4 separate regions of the Homo sapiens genome follow, and all the other regions are linked to region 1. The links are contacts of gene promoters, found by promoter capture Hi-C in blood cells and fetal thymus (Javierre and others, 2016). All regions are on one chromosome and are shown on one strand. Each heading gives the region's core, a stretch centred on a gene start or on the middle of the fragment in contact. The rest is flanking DNA. Distances are from core to core; before and after follow the strand shown. Region 1 holds the start of ZNF621 (zinc finger protein 621). Region 2 overlaps ULK4 (unc-51 like kinase 4). Region 3 overlaps ULK4 (unc-51 like kinase 4). Region 4 overlaps ULK4 (unc-51 like kinase 4).

Region 1 (3,766 bases), core at 418-2,917:
ATAACAAATCCAAGAAGTGGGACCCCTGTAATAAAGCAATATATCTAGATATCCAGGATCATTTTTTATCTTTTAGTGGTGGGAGACCAATTCCCCTTTATAGCATGGAAATGCTTGGTGGTGAGGAGCCTGGTATCTGGAACTGTGTTCAGGAGAAGTTATCAGCGTGATTAAAGTAAAACAAAGTCTGGGCCGGGCGCGGTGGCTCACGCCTGTAATCCCCAGCACTTTGGGAGGCCGAGGTGCACGGATCACAAGGTCAGGAGATCGACACCATCCTGGCTAACACGGTGAAAACCCGTCTCTACTAAAAATACAAAAAATTAGCTGGGCGTGGTGGCGGGGTGCCTGTAGTCCCAGCTACTCGGGAGGCTGAGGAAGGAGAATGGCGTGAACCCAGAAGGCAGAGCTTGCAGTGAGCCGAGATTGCGCCATTGCACTCCAGCCTGGGCGACAGAGCGAGACTCCGTCTCAAAAAAACAAACAAACAAAAAACAAGCAAAAAAAAAAAAAACAAAGTCTGTCCATCTTAGCAACCACTTTGATACTGGAGAAAGGCTCCTGTCCAGAAGGAAGGGCACAGTAGTGAGGTACTTGCCAATGAGCTGGGTAGAGCTGCCACTGGCTGGCTTCGGGAAGTGTTTATCACTGACTGGCTCATGTTCAGAAGCTTGGAGTGAGGCTGTTGTGTACTGGTTGATTTTCAGAGTACGTGTACTGATCTAAAATTATGTAAATTAATGGCAAGTACTTGTTAGTGACTTGGGACTTTGGTCAAAAAACAGTCTTTTCCTTTCCTGAATATGAAAAGTAAGTTCTTTTAATTAGCAGCCTCCCCTCTTCACTGTTTTTTCTTCCTGCAGTCCAACTAACAGAACAGACCATAAAGGTCTGTCCAGATCATTATTTATGGAAGTATGAGATATATATATTTCAGCTGGTGTTAACATTTTATTTAAGTGCCAGTTACTGAGCAGAAAAATAGCTGTAACTACGAGTTTTTGTAATTTATTGGAAAAAGCTAAATATAAGACATTTAGGGTGTCCTCCCAAAGTCAACACAGGACAAGATCATTTAATATAGGACATGTCCTGTGTATACAGGATGCCTAGCAACTGTATGTAGCCACGGGTGTTTTGGTTGTTAAATGAATCTGTCCTAAAAGGTTCTACGCACATCTAGGTCCTTGGAAGGGAGAGGGCTAAAACGGCGAGTGGAAACCATGGTTTCCCTGAGGACTGCCCAGCTGAGGACCCAAGCAAGATCCTGGGCTTGGGCCTCTTAGAGATGACAAAGCAGGCGCCATTCTCCCCTCACCTGCACGGCCCAGGCTTCAGGTGAGCCACGGGGCCAAGGCGGCCAACAGCTGAGGCGCAGCCCGTGAACTGGGGGCCCACTTGTGCCTAGAGGGCGAGGTCTCGGTAGAGCCAGGCTGTATCAGTCCGTGACACTCCAGCCAGAGGCGATGCCGACGGCTGCCGGAGAAAGCCGGGCTTAGAGCGCCACAGTTCCACGCCCGCCGCCGGCCTCTCAGCCCAGCCGGTCGCCGCAACCTCGCCTCTTCCGCAGGGCGGGGCCAGCCATGAAAGGCGGGGCGGGTCTGGCCACGGGGCGACCGAGATGGCGGCCTCCGGGGGCCTAGAGGGACCCTGGGCGTGCACTCGCCCTTCCGGCTCGGCCTTTAGTTAGTGACCAGCTCCTCGGCGTTCTGCAGAGCGTGGGTTTCAGCGAGTTCTACGTGCCAGGTCCGCCCGGTGCCGGCTTCCTCGCTGCCCCTGGCGGCTCGTCAGCCCCCACTACCCCTGAACTTGGTCCCAATGGCGGCCCGCCCCTCCTTCACCCGGACCGTGGGCATCTGGGCCTCGCCGAAGCCGTCAAGGTGGCTGCTCGGGCTTCTAGAGCCCGTGTCCAGCCCTTTGCCACCGAGGCCTGATCCTCTTTTCTGCCCTAAAGAACTTGCCCTGACAGCCTCTGGCTCCCGGTACTGACGTTTCTGATGTTTGGGGTTGCCTGTTTTCTTGGGTGGAGTGTTAAGATCACGGTTGGGTGGGGTCTCCGGTCAGCATCACCCACTGGGACGCTGAGTATTTTACCCTTAATCCGCATTCAGCCACCCCAGTCCCTCTTCTCCTGAGGTTCTTTCTTTTGGGTCCACGTCATCGTCCCTGTAAGCATTCTGTAAAGACTCTTTACGTTTGTAGAGACCCAACACAATAGGGACAGGGCTCTTGGGTCCCTCAGTTTACCCGTACGAATGGGCTCAAAAAAAGCTCTTCGGACTGAGCAGGCAGGTGGAAGATTGTCCTGAAGACTAGGCAGAACAATTCATAAGAAGTTTGGGGCTATCAGCGTGAGAACAATTAGAGGGAGTCCTAGTAGAATCTCCGTGCATCCAGTGCTGGAAATGTGGAAACTGGGAGGGCCATAGGTTGCTGTAGGTGGTGGACGACAGGGTCCTTAGCACTCATGGCTCTTTTTCTCTTAGCTCTTGAGGATCTTGCTTGTCCAAACCCAGAAGACAGTGCATGAAGCCAGGGGACATCCGCCATGCTCCAAACAACTTGGCCTCAGGTGAGCTGAGCTTCTTTCAGTTTTTTTGTTTGTTTGTTTATGTTTTTTTACTCACATTAGCTATCAGATAATCAGGAAAGGATGAGGAAGGCCTAACTTGGCCAAGCTGTGTTTTCCCCTTTGTATCTATCTCCAGGGCTATGGCAGATGTAAATATGTGCTGGGGAAATGAAAGTTTTGTGTATAGAGAGTGATGAGTTTGGATGTATAGATTTAAATGGAAGAAAGGGGACCTATACCAAGAAATTCTTTCTGAATGTGGAAATCCAGATCGTGTTCTAGAAATGAAAGTCACCTACTGAAATCAGACTCATTTTTTGTGAGACGGAGTCTCACTCTGTCGCCCAAGCTGGAGTGTAGTGGCACTATGATATCGGCTCACTGCAGCCTCTGCCTCCTGGGTTCAAGTGATTCCCATACCTCAGCCTCCTAAGTAGCTGGGATTACAGATGTGCGCCGCCACGTGTGGCTAATTTTTGTATTTTTAGTAGAGACGGGGTTTACACCACGTTGGCCAGGCTGGTCTTGAACTCCTGAGCTCAGGTGATCCACCCGCTTCGGCTTCCCAAAGTGCTGGGATTATAGGCATGAGCCACCGCACTAGCTTGAAATCAGAAATTCTTTATTGGAGAGATTGCCCACAAATTGTATTGTATGTATCCCAGAGAGACTAGTATTGTTGCTTTAATATACATTTTCTAAATGCTAGATGCAAGGACTCTGAAGTTGCAGAGAAAGCTGGATGTACTCTAGAAACTGGAAGGGGTCAGAGAAAGTGGTTCAATATGAGATGGAAGAAATAGATACCTGTATTATAGGTCATGGTGAGGACAGTGGTTTCTGTACTGGTTCATTGGGAAGGCACTGAAGAATTTTAAGCAGGGGGATGACATGGTTGGATTTACATATTAAAAAGATTTTCCTAGCCCTTAGTGGCAAATTGATGGTAGAAAGGTGTTGGTCAATTAAGAAGATATTAAGTGTTGTCCTTTTATTTTTTTTGTTTTTGAGACGGAGTTTCGCCTTTGTTGTCCAGGCTTGAGTGCAATGGCGCTATCTCGGCTCACCGCAACCTCCACCTCCCAGGTTCAGGCAATTCTCCTGCCTTAGCCTCCCAAGTAGCTGGGATTACAGGCATGCACCTGTTTTTTGTTTGTTTGTTTGTTTTTTTGAGATGGAGTCTCACTGCAACAC
Region 2 (4,137 bases), core at 18-2,517, 1.4 Mb after region 1:
CCCAGTATCACCTATGATATGTTCTTACCAAAAAAAAAAAAAAAAGGTTCAACCTAAATCTAATGAAGCGTCCAGACCTAACCTACAGTTTATAGGAAATGTGTGGACTAGAGGAATAAGTTAGCAATACCAAAAAAAGCAAGCAGACAAATCTGGAATGTGGAATATTCAACAGGACAAACAGCCTGGACTCTCCAAGAATCAATGTAATGTGGCAAGAAAAAATAGAGGAACAATTCTAGAAAAAAACATGAGGAAAGAGACTCCAACAGTGAATTATAGAGAGCACCAAGTTGTTTCTTATAATGATGCAAAGGTGATTTATTTTTAGGAATTCCATTAATATAATCCACCTATTAATAGAGATAGGAAGAAAAATTAAATACTCCTATCTTCTGATGCCATACCAAACTCAATAACCATTAATGTTAAAAACAAAGAGGAAACTGGTAAATACTTATTTAACATGATTTTATGCCAACACCAAGTATTCATGAGAATACAGAGCACTGAACATTCTTTCATTAGTCAAAGCATTTTAACTTATACAACCTTACTGGAAAACAGTTTAGATTACCCCCTAAAGTTGAACACACACATATCCTGTAACCTACCAATTCCATTCCTACACATATCCAACAGAGAGCTTGCGCAAGTGCATCAAAATGTGTGTGCAAGGCTTTTAATAGCCAAATACAGAAAACAATCCAAATGCCCATCACCAGTGATGTAGTATACTCATGTAATAAAAATGAACTACAGGTACAGGCAACAAGGATGAATTCCATAAACATAATATGAAATAAAAGAAGCCAGATACCAAAGTATACATATCATATGACTCAATTTAAACAAAATTCAAAAGCCGGCAAAATCATGACAGAATTGGAAGTTACGGTAACTTCCTTTGGCACAAAGGGAGAGAACAGTGATCAGGAGAGAGCACAAGAGGATCCCCGGGTATGCTGGCAATGTTCTACTTAATGTTCTGTTTCTTGACCCAGTGACAGTTTATTGGGTTTTCACACTTGGCAATAATTCATTAAGCAATACATTTATGTTTTGTATGTATTTCCAACACTTCAATAAAAAAGAATTATAATTTTCAAACCAGAAAGAAAGTACAAAGTAATCTCTAAATATCTAAAAAAAATTGAAAACATATGTAACTATATATCATATTGGTGACAAAAGTACAAAGTGAAGAATTATATAAATTGCTTTTAAAACTCAGCGTTTTGACTGTACATATCATCCAGTGGGTTATATCCCAAGGGAAAAAAAGTACTTAAAATGCACTTTGTAGTTTTGTTGTTAGTAACAATACGTGTACTATTTTTAAACTATTCTAAACTCTAAGCTAAAAAAAAAGATAATTATGTTAATGTTATTAATGGCCAAGAGTGTTTTTTTTTGAGACAGAGTCTTGCTCTGTTGCCTAGGCTGGAGCGCAGTGGTCCGATCCCAGCAGCCTCCGCCTCCTGGGTTCAAGCAATTCTCATGCCCCAGCCTCCCAAGGAGCCAGGATTACAGGCGTGCATCACTATGCTCGGCTAATTTTTGTATTTTTAGTAGAGATGGGGTTTTGCCATGTTGGCCAAGCTGGTCTCGAACGCCTGAACTCAAGTGATCCACCCACCTCAGCTCCCAAAGTGCTGGTATTACAGGCATGAGCCACCGCCCCAGCCAGGAATTTTAGCTTATGAGAAGAAAAATAAAAATTGTAAATCAAAAGGTAAAAACGAATTTTAAATCTGAATTGGAGCCAGGCGTGGTGGCTCACCGCTATAATCCCAGAACTTTGGGAGGCCAAGGTGGGTGGATCACCTGAGGTCAGGAGTTTGAGACCAGCCTGGCCAACATGGTGAAACCCCATCTCTACTAAAAATACAAAATTAGTCGGGCATGATGGTGCATGCCTGTAATCTCAGCTACTCAAGAGGCTAAGGCAGGAGAATCGCTTGAACCCGGGAGGCAGAGGTTGCGGTGAGCCGAGATCGCGCCGTCGCACTCCAGCCTGGGCAACAAGAGCAAAACTCTGTCTCAATAAAAAAATCTGAATTGGAAAAGCAGAATAAACTGTGAATTTTTCTCTTTTTAAGAAACAATAGTACCTAGATCTAACCTCTGAAAAGCTCTACCAGGAAAAAAAAAAAAAAAAAAAAACCTAGAGAACCCAGATTGAGTTCTCTAACTACATCTTCTAACAAAGTAAACAAGATTCCTTATAGAAGTGGTTTCAAAACTAGGGGTTGACTATTCCCGAAACAAGCCTATGAAAGCTCACTGCCGAGAAGCCAGCAAGCTGTCAGAGACAGGAGTAGGCTCATGTCAAAGGGAGAAAGGAGCAAACTTGAAAGAGCTCCCACTGGATGGAGATGAAACAATGTAAGCATCAAAAAGACTAATGACTGCAAAGGACTAGACGATATACATATACATATATACACCTGTAAGTTCTTAACAATATAAAATCAATCTCACTAGACACGGAGATTTCTCAGGTACCAACTCTTTATTCTGAAAACTGACCTATGAAGAGGAACAATCAAGCATTTATCCTGCCTTGCAAAACAAACTCTATTTTAAGGATAACCAAATAGTTGATCAGGGAAAGATCTTCTGTAAGAAAACTTCCAACTACAAATAGAAAGGAAATTACAGAATAAGAAAATTATCATTTTGCAACTCTAAAGGATTACTACATGTAGACAATAATCGATTGATGTTAAAACTGTTAAAAAAAAAAAAAAAAAAAAAGAGTGAGGAGTTCCTGACTCACAGATAAGGGTATGAAGAAAAAAAAAGAGTGATGGGAATATTTATAATAAGGCTGACAACATCTGAGTCTAGTGATCAACTTTAACCCCTCTAATAGAGGCATATAATGTTTAATTGTCTCACTTCCTATGAAGCAGTAGGAGAAATACAGCACCAACTGTGACAAATTCCTATTTCCCCAAGCCATCCCCCCAAAAAAAAGTACTGAATCAAGGGTCCACATCTAAGCAGCCATGCGCAAGAAAGGAAAGGCAGGTGATAAAGGACTATATTAAATAACACCAAAAGGGTGCAGTAAAGCTTCTGGTATTCCAATTTGGGCCAAGACAAGGGACAATTTGTCTGTAACAAATAAATGACACTAAAAAATAAGAGACCAGGAATTAAGAGACTTAAGGGTCACAATATCTAAACGCAATCCTGGCTCAAAGAAAAATTACAAAATGACATGTATGAAACCACCAAGAAAATCTGAACACTAACTGGGTATTAGATGATATTCAGAGACTACTGCTGAATGTATTGGGTGTGATAATGAAATCATGGTTATACATTTTTCTAATCCTTTTCTGCTAGCAAAAGATATTTACTAGTAAAATGATATCATTTTATTTAAAATACTCCAGCAAGAAAGAGAGAGGGAGAGAAAAAGGGAGAGGGGGAATGAAAGCAGGACACAAGATGAAACAAGATTAGCCAGTGTTGATTGCTGGAAGCAAATGATACTACCTCATTACTCTAGCCTCTCTACTTCTATATATGTTGAAATTTTCCATAATTTAAAAAAAAAAAATTTGAGACAGGGTCTTGCTCTGTTGCCCAAGCTGGAGTGCAATAGCATGATAATAGCCCACTACAGCCTCAACCTCCCAGGGTCATGTCTCAGCCTCCTGAGTAGCTGGGACCACAGACGTGCACCACCACACCAAACTCTATTTTTTCTAGAGACAGGGTCTCCTTATGTTGCCCAGGCTGGTCTCAAACTCCTAGGCTCAAGTTATCCTCCCACCTCAGCCTCCCAAAGTACTGGGATTACAGCCGTGAGTCACCACGCCCAGCTGATAATAAAGAAATTTAATGAATGGGTTAACCTAAAATGTCTGTTAATACTCCTTTTGGCCAGGAGTGGTGGCTCATGCCTGTAATCCCAGCACTTTGGGAGGCTGAGGCGGATGGATTATTTGAGGTCAAGAGTTCGTGATCAGCCTGGCCAACATGGTGAAACCCCATCTCTACTAAAAATACAAAATAAATTAGCTGGGCGTGGTAGTGCATGCCTGTAATCCCAGCTACTCGGGAGGCTGAGGCAGGAGAATCGTTTGAACCTGGGTGACAGAGGTTGCAGTGAGCCAAGAT
Region 3 (3,798 bases), core at 373-2,872, 1.4 Mb after region 1:
TGCTCTCCACCTGGTATGTTGCTTCTGTAAAAAGCAAGGACACTTCCTTCCATCGGGAGTTTATAAATCATAATCCCATTAGATTGTAAATAACATCTAGGGAAGCTATGTGCTACATGAGGGAAAGATAAGGGTGGCCAAGGGAAACTTCGAGGAAGTATAACTAAATTAATACACAGGGATCAGGGTTTAAGTATTTTATAATCAATACTCAAAACAGTAACAGTTAGCCAGGCACAGTGGCTCACACCTGTAATCCTAACACTTTGGGAGTCAGAGATGGGAGAATCACTTGAGCCCAGGAGTTCAAAACCAGCCTGTGCAACATAGTGAGAGACCTTGTCTCTAAGAAAATAAAAAAACAATAACAGTTAATAAAGTTTCCAGGAGTACCTTAGATAATCCCAGAATTGTATTTGTAATATTAGGAGAAGGGCTATTTTTAATATTCTAAAATTTATCATTGGAATGCCCATAAAAATTGCCTATGAGTAGAGTCATCATTACATCAGAATAATTTATGATAATTATTTAGGACTCTGCTTTTGATAAATATGTGCTCTGTAACTACTTAATAAAGTCATGAAAAATAATTTTTAAAATATAAACGTTACTTACATATCCCAGTTTGGAGCTATCCGCAAATGCTGGATTAGCAATTGGAACTAGAATAAGAAATTTAAGTGTAAAGAAAAGAAAAAATTAAAATGTTTAAGTCACAAAACACAGAAAATGACAGCAAAGTTAACAGCTCAGGACTTTATACAAAGGAAATTTACACTGTACACCAAAAATGGTATTTACTAAATTACAAAGGCACTAGTATACGAATAAGATTAAAATAAAAACTAAGAACAGTATTTTTAGTTTCTCCTACCACTTTATATTCGCTAAATGACTGCCCTTACCTGATAGACACACACCAACTATCAAAAAAAGTAACCTTAATACTATCCTGGAAGCAAATGAACTTAAATTTTTTCAAGCCAATTCCCAAATGAGGGACCACTATAGAAAACACCTCCGAACCACTGTAATTCCTCTCTGAGGATGACTTCAAAAACTCTGCCAATCGATGCTTAAACATGAGCCAAAAGAAACAAAAACCAAAAAAACTCTGACAAATTCCCTTGAGCTTACCAACAGACCAAGACAGTCCAAAAAGTAATATTCCCAGGGGAAGAGGAAAAAAATGTCTTAGAGGATTGATGTCTTCCTTCAATGTCACATCAGAAACCCTGCAGTTTACCAGATGACCCAGTAAAGGAACCGACACCCCCGACCCATTCCACATGGGGAGTTCATTCCAGTCACTAATGAGAAGGTAAAAGGTCTGTCTTATGATATCACTTTTTTTTTATTTTTATTTTTTGAGATGGAGTTTCACTTTTTTTGCCCAGGCTGGAGTGCTGTGGTGCGATCTCAGCTCACTGCAACCTCTGCCTCCCGGGTTCAAGTGATTCTCCTGCCTCAGCCTCCCAAGTAGCTGGGATTACAGGAGTGCACTGCCACACCCAGCTAATTTTGTACTTTTAGTAGAGACAGGGTTTCACCATGTTGGCCAGGCTGGTTTCGAACTCCTGACCTCAGGTGATCCACCCACCTTGGCCTCCCAAAGTGCTGGGATTACAGGCATGAGCCACTACGCCCAGCCTGATTTCAGATTTTTTTTTAAATCTTACAAGTTAACATAAAATGGAAACCTGAGTATTACAAACAAACAAACAAAATAAGTTCAAAATCACCATCTACTGTCATCTACTTTAGGACCTAAGGATTAAGCAGAGGATAATTTTCATAAACCTAAAATCGTGATAAATCAGTTTTTTTGTGGTAGTTAAATCAAATTGTTATTTTAGCACTTGTTTGAGCCTCTATAAAAACACAAATTAAAATGCATAAGGCATGTCACACAGGCTTACCAGGGGGGAATGGAGGAGCCTGGTGGCCACCTCCTGGTGACCAGCCACCACGCACAAATAGCAAAGGAGATTCAGCTTGGCTCGGGAGGCCCCCATGCTCTTCTCAGTGGAGTCGATCTGCGAGCACACTTGTTGCAAAAAGTCATTCCAATCTTGATCTTTCAGAAATAATAACTTATCCACTGCGATGGAAAGAAAATAATAAAAGTACATATGATGAGAAAAAGAACTGCTGGAAACATTACATAAGAAATAAACACAGAATTACGACAGCTAAGATGAGGACAAACATTACACTGTCAAAACCAAAAATACTCCAAAGATGACACTATTTTTATTCGTCCTTCTATATTCCTAATCTCTTTATCTATCCACGGAAACTTTTTAACCACTTCAATGGAAAACTATACTTTCAAATAAAGCAGATGTCTAAAGCAGAACTGTCCCACAACCTACACTATAACAAAATGCAAAGTTCAATACAACTGGAGTAAAAGACAAAAGAGCCTTTGTATAAATAAATCAACTCTCAAATATTGAGAAAAGCACAAATCCTACAGTTCTTAAAAAGTTCCAATAAAATTATTGTAAAAAAAATAACGAGAATAACATGATAGCTAAAAATCACCTGAAATTCCTACCTCCAAATCCCTATACAAAAAAAAGGCAAAATCTAGGAAATGTGATACCCCCTAAAATTAACATATTTTTGGCTGATCTCTATCTTTAGACAAAATAAATTGTAAATATAATCTCCTAAATAACTCAAAGAAGAAAAGGGAAATAGTATTTCCAGGTGATAATTCTCTAGGTTTGCGTAAATAGTCCTACTTGGCACTGAAAGCACTATTAATAATACTTTGCTTCACTTGGCCTTTCAAAAACGTCCTTCTACACAGTTTCTTTTTTGTTTTTATCAGTAATTAAGTTGACCAATATAAACCCTTAGCTGGTTTATTTAAACCTAAATATATTTTAAATTTACTTCAAATCATAGATTCTACTCTAGCCACGATGAATAATTTTCCCCAAATCGAGTTTAACAGCTTAAAATATAATTTGTTAAACGAAAAAACCAATTTAAGGTATGTAAAAATTTCTGATGGTCACCCTAAATAAGACTTTCATTAGCTCAACAGAAATGTAATAATTATCCCTTAAGTATCTCCACTCCCACACCACCTCCACAGTCATGAACCACCTAGTCCCATTCTCAAATGTCCTGGTCCCTCTAATAGAATCCCAATCCTTCATTGTTGTCCCCAACCCTGTGCACCTATACCAGCCATAAATGGTGGAAATTCAACCAGCTCTAAGGGAAGGGAGGAGAAGACCTCCCACCCACTCTACAGGAAAACTTGCCCAGATCTACAGGAACCTCCCCACCCACAATAGGACTGGGCAGCCCAGACTCAGCTAAGAAATGTCAACAGCTGGCACAAATGAATTACAGATTGTTTACAATTCGTGTAACACTGCCCCAAGAATATAGCCAATTGTCAAGACAAAATAAATTTAGTTATTCACATATATTCTATTTGCAAATAAATTTCATATTTGTATCTGTATACAAAGAGTCTACATGTTCGATAAGTCCTTTATGATCCTACCTGAATATGTTGGTAGATGCAATATTTTTGCATCAAATTTAACTGGTGGCTGTTTCATTATCTGTGGTTTAAAAAAAAAGAAAGCTTTTGAGACAATTTTTAAGATGGATATCTGTCTCCTTATATGTCCCTTATGTCAGATAATAAATCAATGAGGACAAAAAAAGAATGTGCAAAATTTGTTACCAAAAAGAATAAGAACAATGACTTTTCGGATTAAAACACACAAATATAGATAATATTTTTTATAATCATTTCAATTGATA
Region 4 (4,056 bases), core at 747-3,246, 1.4 Mb after region 1:
ATGTAAATCTCAAAAACTAAGTCTTAACAAACCTCTAAGCCTTCTCTTCACTGAACAATCCCAATAAGGATCACCAGCTTAACAAACTCAAACACTTGTCTTCAACTATTTTGGGGGAGTTTTTTGAGATAGAGTCTTGCTCTGTCACCCAGGGTGGAGTGCAGTGGCACCATCATGGTTCACTCCAGCCTCTACCTCCCAGGCTCAAGTGATCCTCTCACCCCAGCCTCCAGAGTAGGTGGGACTACAGGCATGCACTACCATGCCTGACTAATTTTTGTTTATTTTTTATAGAGATGGGGTCTCACTATGCTGCCTAAGTTAGTCTCCAACTCCTGGGCTCCAGTGATCCACCTGCCTTGGATCTCCTAAAGTGCTGCAATTACAATTACAAGTGTGAGCCACTATGCTCAGCTCCAACTATTTTTTTTTTTTTTTTTTTGGAGAATGAGTTTCACTCTTCTTGCCCAGGCTGGAGTGCAATGGAGCGATCTCAGTTCACTGCAACCTCTGCCTCCCAGGTATATGCGATTCTCCTGTCTCAGCCTCCCAAGTAGCTCGGATTACAGGCATGTGCCACCATGCCTGGCTAATTTTTTTGTATTTAGTAGAGACAGGGTTTCACCATGATAGTCAGGCTGGTCGTGAACTCTTGACCTCAGGTGATCCACCCACCTCAGCCTCCCAAAGTGCTAGGATTACAGGTGTGTGCCACCATGCCCGGCCCCAGCTTAACTATTAATTATACCTTATTCTTTTAAGTATTCCTAACTTGAACAACTAAGAATATTTGCAATCCCTCTTTTAAGATTTTTAACAGAAATAAGAAGCATTATAATATGACACTGTCCAATACCACTAATCTCATAATGTTTTGTCTTTTTAAATTAGTTATATACCATATCCAGGTCATCAGTCTATGGTTAAAAGTAGTAGTAATGGCCACACATTGTGGCTCATACTTGAAATCCCAGCACTTTGAGAGGCCAAGGCAGGCGGATCACTCGAGGCCAGGAGTTCAAGACAAGCTAGGCTACATACCAAGACCTTGTCTCCACCAAAAAATTAAAAAATTAGCCATTCCCAGTGGTGTGCCCCTATAGTCCCGGCTACTTGGGAGGTTGACTGCACCACTGCACTCCAGCCTGAGTGACACAGCAGCACAGCAGAACCCTGTCTCTCAAATATATATATATGTATATATAGCAATAATTTTTGTAGAATCCTGTTTTCATTTATGTGTCTTAAGATAAACTTTAACAATGTATAGCAAAATGTTTTACTACACTTGTGCCTTCTTTTGTTTTCCTTTCCTTAAAAATTATTGCTGATAGATCATTATATTAACCACAATTTATATGATTAAAGTTCCAACACTTTAAAAATAATACAACTGTATCTAATTTTAAAGATTTTTAGGCCGGGCGCAGTGGCTCACGCCTGTAATCCCAGCACTTTGGGAGGCTGAGGTGGGTGGATCATGACATCAGGAGTTTGAGACCAGCCTGGCCAAGATGGTGAAACCCCGTCTCTAATAAAAAACAAAAAACAAAAAATTAGCCGGGTGCCGTGGTGGGCACCTGTAGTCCCAGCTACTCGGGAGGCTGAGGCAGGAGAACTGCTTGAACCCGGGAGGCGGAGGTTGCAGTGAGCCGAGAACACGCCACTGCACTCCAGCCTGGGCAACAGAGCAAGACTCTGTCTCAAAAATAAATAAATAAATAAATAAATAAATAAATAAATAAATAAATAAAGATTTTTAAAACTTATAAGGGTAGCATTCTGATTCATCAAGATAAGGAAATGGTGAATTTGTTCCAACAGGAGATAGAAATAACCACATGGGATACGACTACAAAGTAAGTAAATGGTACATACAAAAAGCAATGTCACATAAGGGTTTAAGTTTTTTAAGTCTTTAAGCCATACTTTTTATGATATAGATGCACAAAATAGTTTTTAAATGAGGGAAATCTATTAGTACTTTGTTTTCTGTTTCAGCATCTTTAAAAAATGGCAAAAGAAATACTAACATTTCTAAAAATATCAACTTGGGATCATTTATAAAAGATAACTTTGGGGAGTTATGAATCAATAAAAGCAAACGTTGGATAAAGGTACACCTTTAATCAGTGTAAAATGTAAATTAATTCCATTTATCATAAGAAATCTTACCTTTCGGAATAGGTGGCAAAGGATCTTCACATAAGATCTTTTCAGTTAATTCTGAAATACTTTCTGAGAAGAATGGAGGTTTTCCTGAAATCACATGAAAACTTGCAAAATGAAAGAAGTCTGCTATCACCAATAATTCTTTTTTTTTTTTTTTTTTTTTTTTGAGATGGAGTCTTGCTCTGTCACCCAGGCTGGAGTGCAGTGGCGCAATCTCGGCTCACTGCACACTCCGCCTCCTGGGTTCAGGCCACTCTCCTGCTTCAGCCTCCCCAGCAGCTGGGACCACAGGCGCACGCTGCCACGCCCAGCTAATTTTTTGTATTTTTAGTAGAGATGGGGTTTCACCGTGTTAGCCAGGATGGTCTCAATCTCCTGACCTCGTGATCCGCCCGCCTCGATCTCCCAAAGTGCTGGGATTACAGGCGTGAGCCACCACACCTGGCCTTGCTATCACCAATAATTCTAATCTCAACTACAGATATTTCAAGATTATACAACTTATAGAAAAAATATATAGCAATAGCTATTTAATGCCTAGTATGTACGAGGCACTGCCTATATATTTCTCTTACTTCAAAATGTATTATCATCCTAACAAATACACAAACACACATATGGACCACTACTATGAACCAATGGGTGCATGGGCCATTCAAATCATCTGAATAATACACAATTGCAAGGCATCTTTACAAAAATTTCTAATAATCACAATTTTTGAGTTAGGCACATTTCAGCATTCCAGATTATCATGAAAAATTACCTATTTATCAAGAACTTTCTAGGAATCTGCATATGCCTAGATACCAAGCAACTCAGCCAAAATCAGTATACATAAAAATTTATAAGGTCACAGTTTTTTTGGCCAGGCACAGTGGCTCATGCCTATAATCCCAGAGCTTTGGGAGGCCTAAGCAGGCAGATCACTTGAGGTCAGGCATTCAAGACCAGCCTGGCCAACATGGTGAGACCCGCTCTCTACTAAAAATAGAAAAAACTGCCAGGCATGGTGGTGGGCACCTGTAAGCCCAGCTACTCGGGAAGCTGAGACACAGGAATGGCTTGAACCCAGGAGGCAGAGGTTGTAGTGAGCCGAGATCGTGCCACTGCACTCCAGACTGGGTGACAGTACGAGACTCTGTCTCAAAATAAAAAAAAATCTAGTTTTTTCACATCTTATAGGTAAAACATCTGCAAAGTACAGACTTAACCTGGTTTTTAGTCCAGCTCTGATTTTATACCTATTCAGGAAACAATTACCTGAAAACATTTCATAAAGCAGACAGCCCAAAGACCAGAGGTCACTGGAGATGGAAAAGTCAGCACCCCTCACAACTTCTGGTGCTGTATATACAGGAGATCCTAAAAGCAAAGTATGAAGAACAGCTCGGTTAGGCATTTGTATTGCTGCCAACACGAACCCACCTAGGAAAGATCTGATGAGATGAAAAAGGGCAGGAGAAAAACATGCGCATGAATAAAACTTCATGTGCATTTCACATTTTTAAATGTTTTCTAATTTTAAGGTTACATTTTGCAAAGGATGTGTGTGAATATAAAAAAGTGTTTAAAATCTACCTGAGAGGTATGGCACATTCAGCTACATTCTTCTTTTAAATTTCAATTAGAATAGTTTAAGTTAAACCTTCAATATAACAACCCCAACATCCCACTGGCTTAACAGCAAAGGTTTATCTATCACTAAACATGTCCACAACAAATCTACCAAGAAGCTCTGATCCTCATAGTCACTCAAAGACCCAGGCTGATAGAGGCTCCAACTCCACTCATGCTTCCTCACTTGGAGGCAGGGAGAAAGAATGTAGCTAACTGAACACTGGCTCCTAAAATTCCCATCTCAAAGTTACTCACATCACTTCC

What was found. The method cuts DNA at HindIII sites, captures the fragments that hold promoters and counts their contacts. A CHiCAGO score of 5 or more calls a contact.
Region 2: a fragment that was not itself captured here is called in contact with the fragment with the promoter of ZNF621 in region 1 in 15 of 17 cell types (total CD4 T cells, total B cells, non-activated CD4 T cells and 12 more); the score reaches 12.5 in total CD4 T cells.
Region 3: a fragment that was not itself captured here is called in contact with the fragment with the promoter of ZNF621 in region 1 in 3 of 17 cell types (total CD4 T cells, M0 macrophages and naive CD4 T cells); the score reaches 9.2 in total CD4 T cells.
Region 4: a fragment that was not itself captured here is called in contact with the fragment with the promoter of ZNF621 in region 1 in 4 of 17 cell types (total CD4 T cells, total CD8 T cells, activated CD4 T cells and 1 more); the score reaches 7.6 in total CD4 T cells.

The regions. Positions count from the first base shown.
Region 1 is chr3:40,523,293-40,527,058 of GRCh38, forward strand. ZNF621 (zinc finger protein 621) reads left to right here and starts at 1,668. Exons shown (of 5, transcript NM_198484.5): 1 at 1,668-1,982; 2 at 2,487-2,572. The coding sequence starts at 2,549. RefSeq lists enhancers at 1,270-1,359, 1,638-2,450, 2,010-2,149 and a silencer at 1,550-1,709. The HindIII fragment of the contact is 8,303 bases long and covers 669-3,766 here.
Region 2 is chr3:41,875,937-41,880,073 of GRCh38, forward strand. The region is part of intron 17 of ULK4 (unc-51 like kinase 4); the gene reads right to left. Among named protein-coding and RNA genes, the nearest start is that of ULK4, 84 kb to the right of the region's middle. The HindIII fragment of the contact is 3,624 bases long and covers 1-3,079 here.
Region 3 is chr3:41,894,900-41,898,697 of GRCh38, forward strand. It overlaps ULK4 (unc-51 like kinase 4), which reads right to left. Exons shown (of 37, transcript NM_017886.4): 14 at 3,533-3,593; 15 at 1,923-2,104; 16 at 619-665. Among named protein-coding and RNA genes, the nearest start is that of ULK4, 65 kb to the right of the region's middle. The HindIII fragment of the contact is 3,983 bases long and covers 1-3,614 here.
Region 4 is chr3:41,916,282-41,920,337 of GRCh38, forward strand. ULK4 (unc-51 like kinase 4) reads right to left here. Exons shown (of 37, transcript NM_017886.4): 6 at 3,436-3,537; 7 at 2,176-2,259. Among named protein-coding and RNA genes, the nearest start is that of ULK4, 44 kb to the right of the region's middle. The HindIII fragment of the contact is 4,490 bases long and covers 1-4,056 here.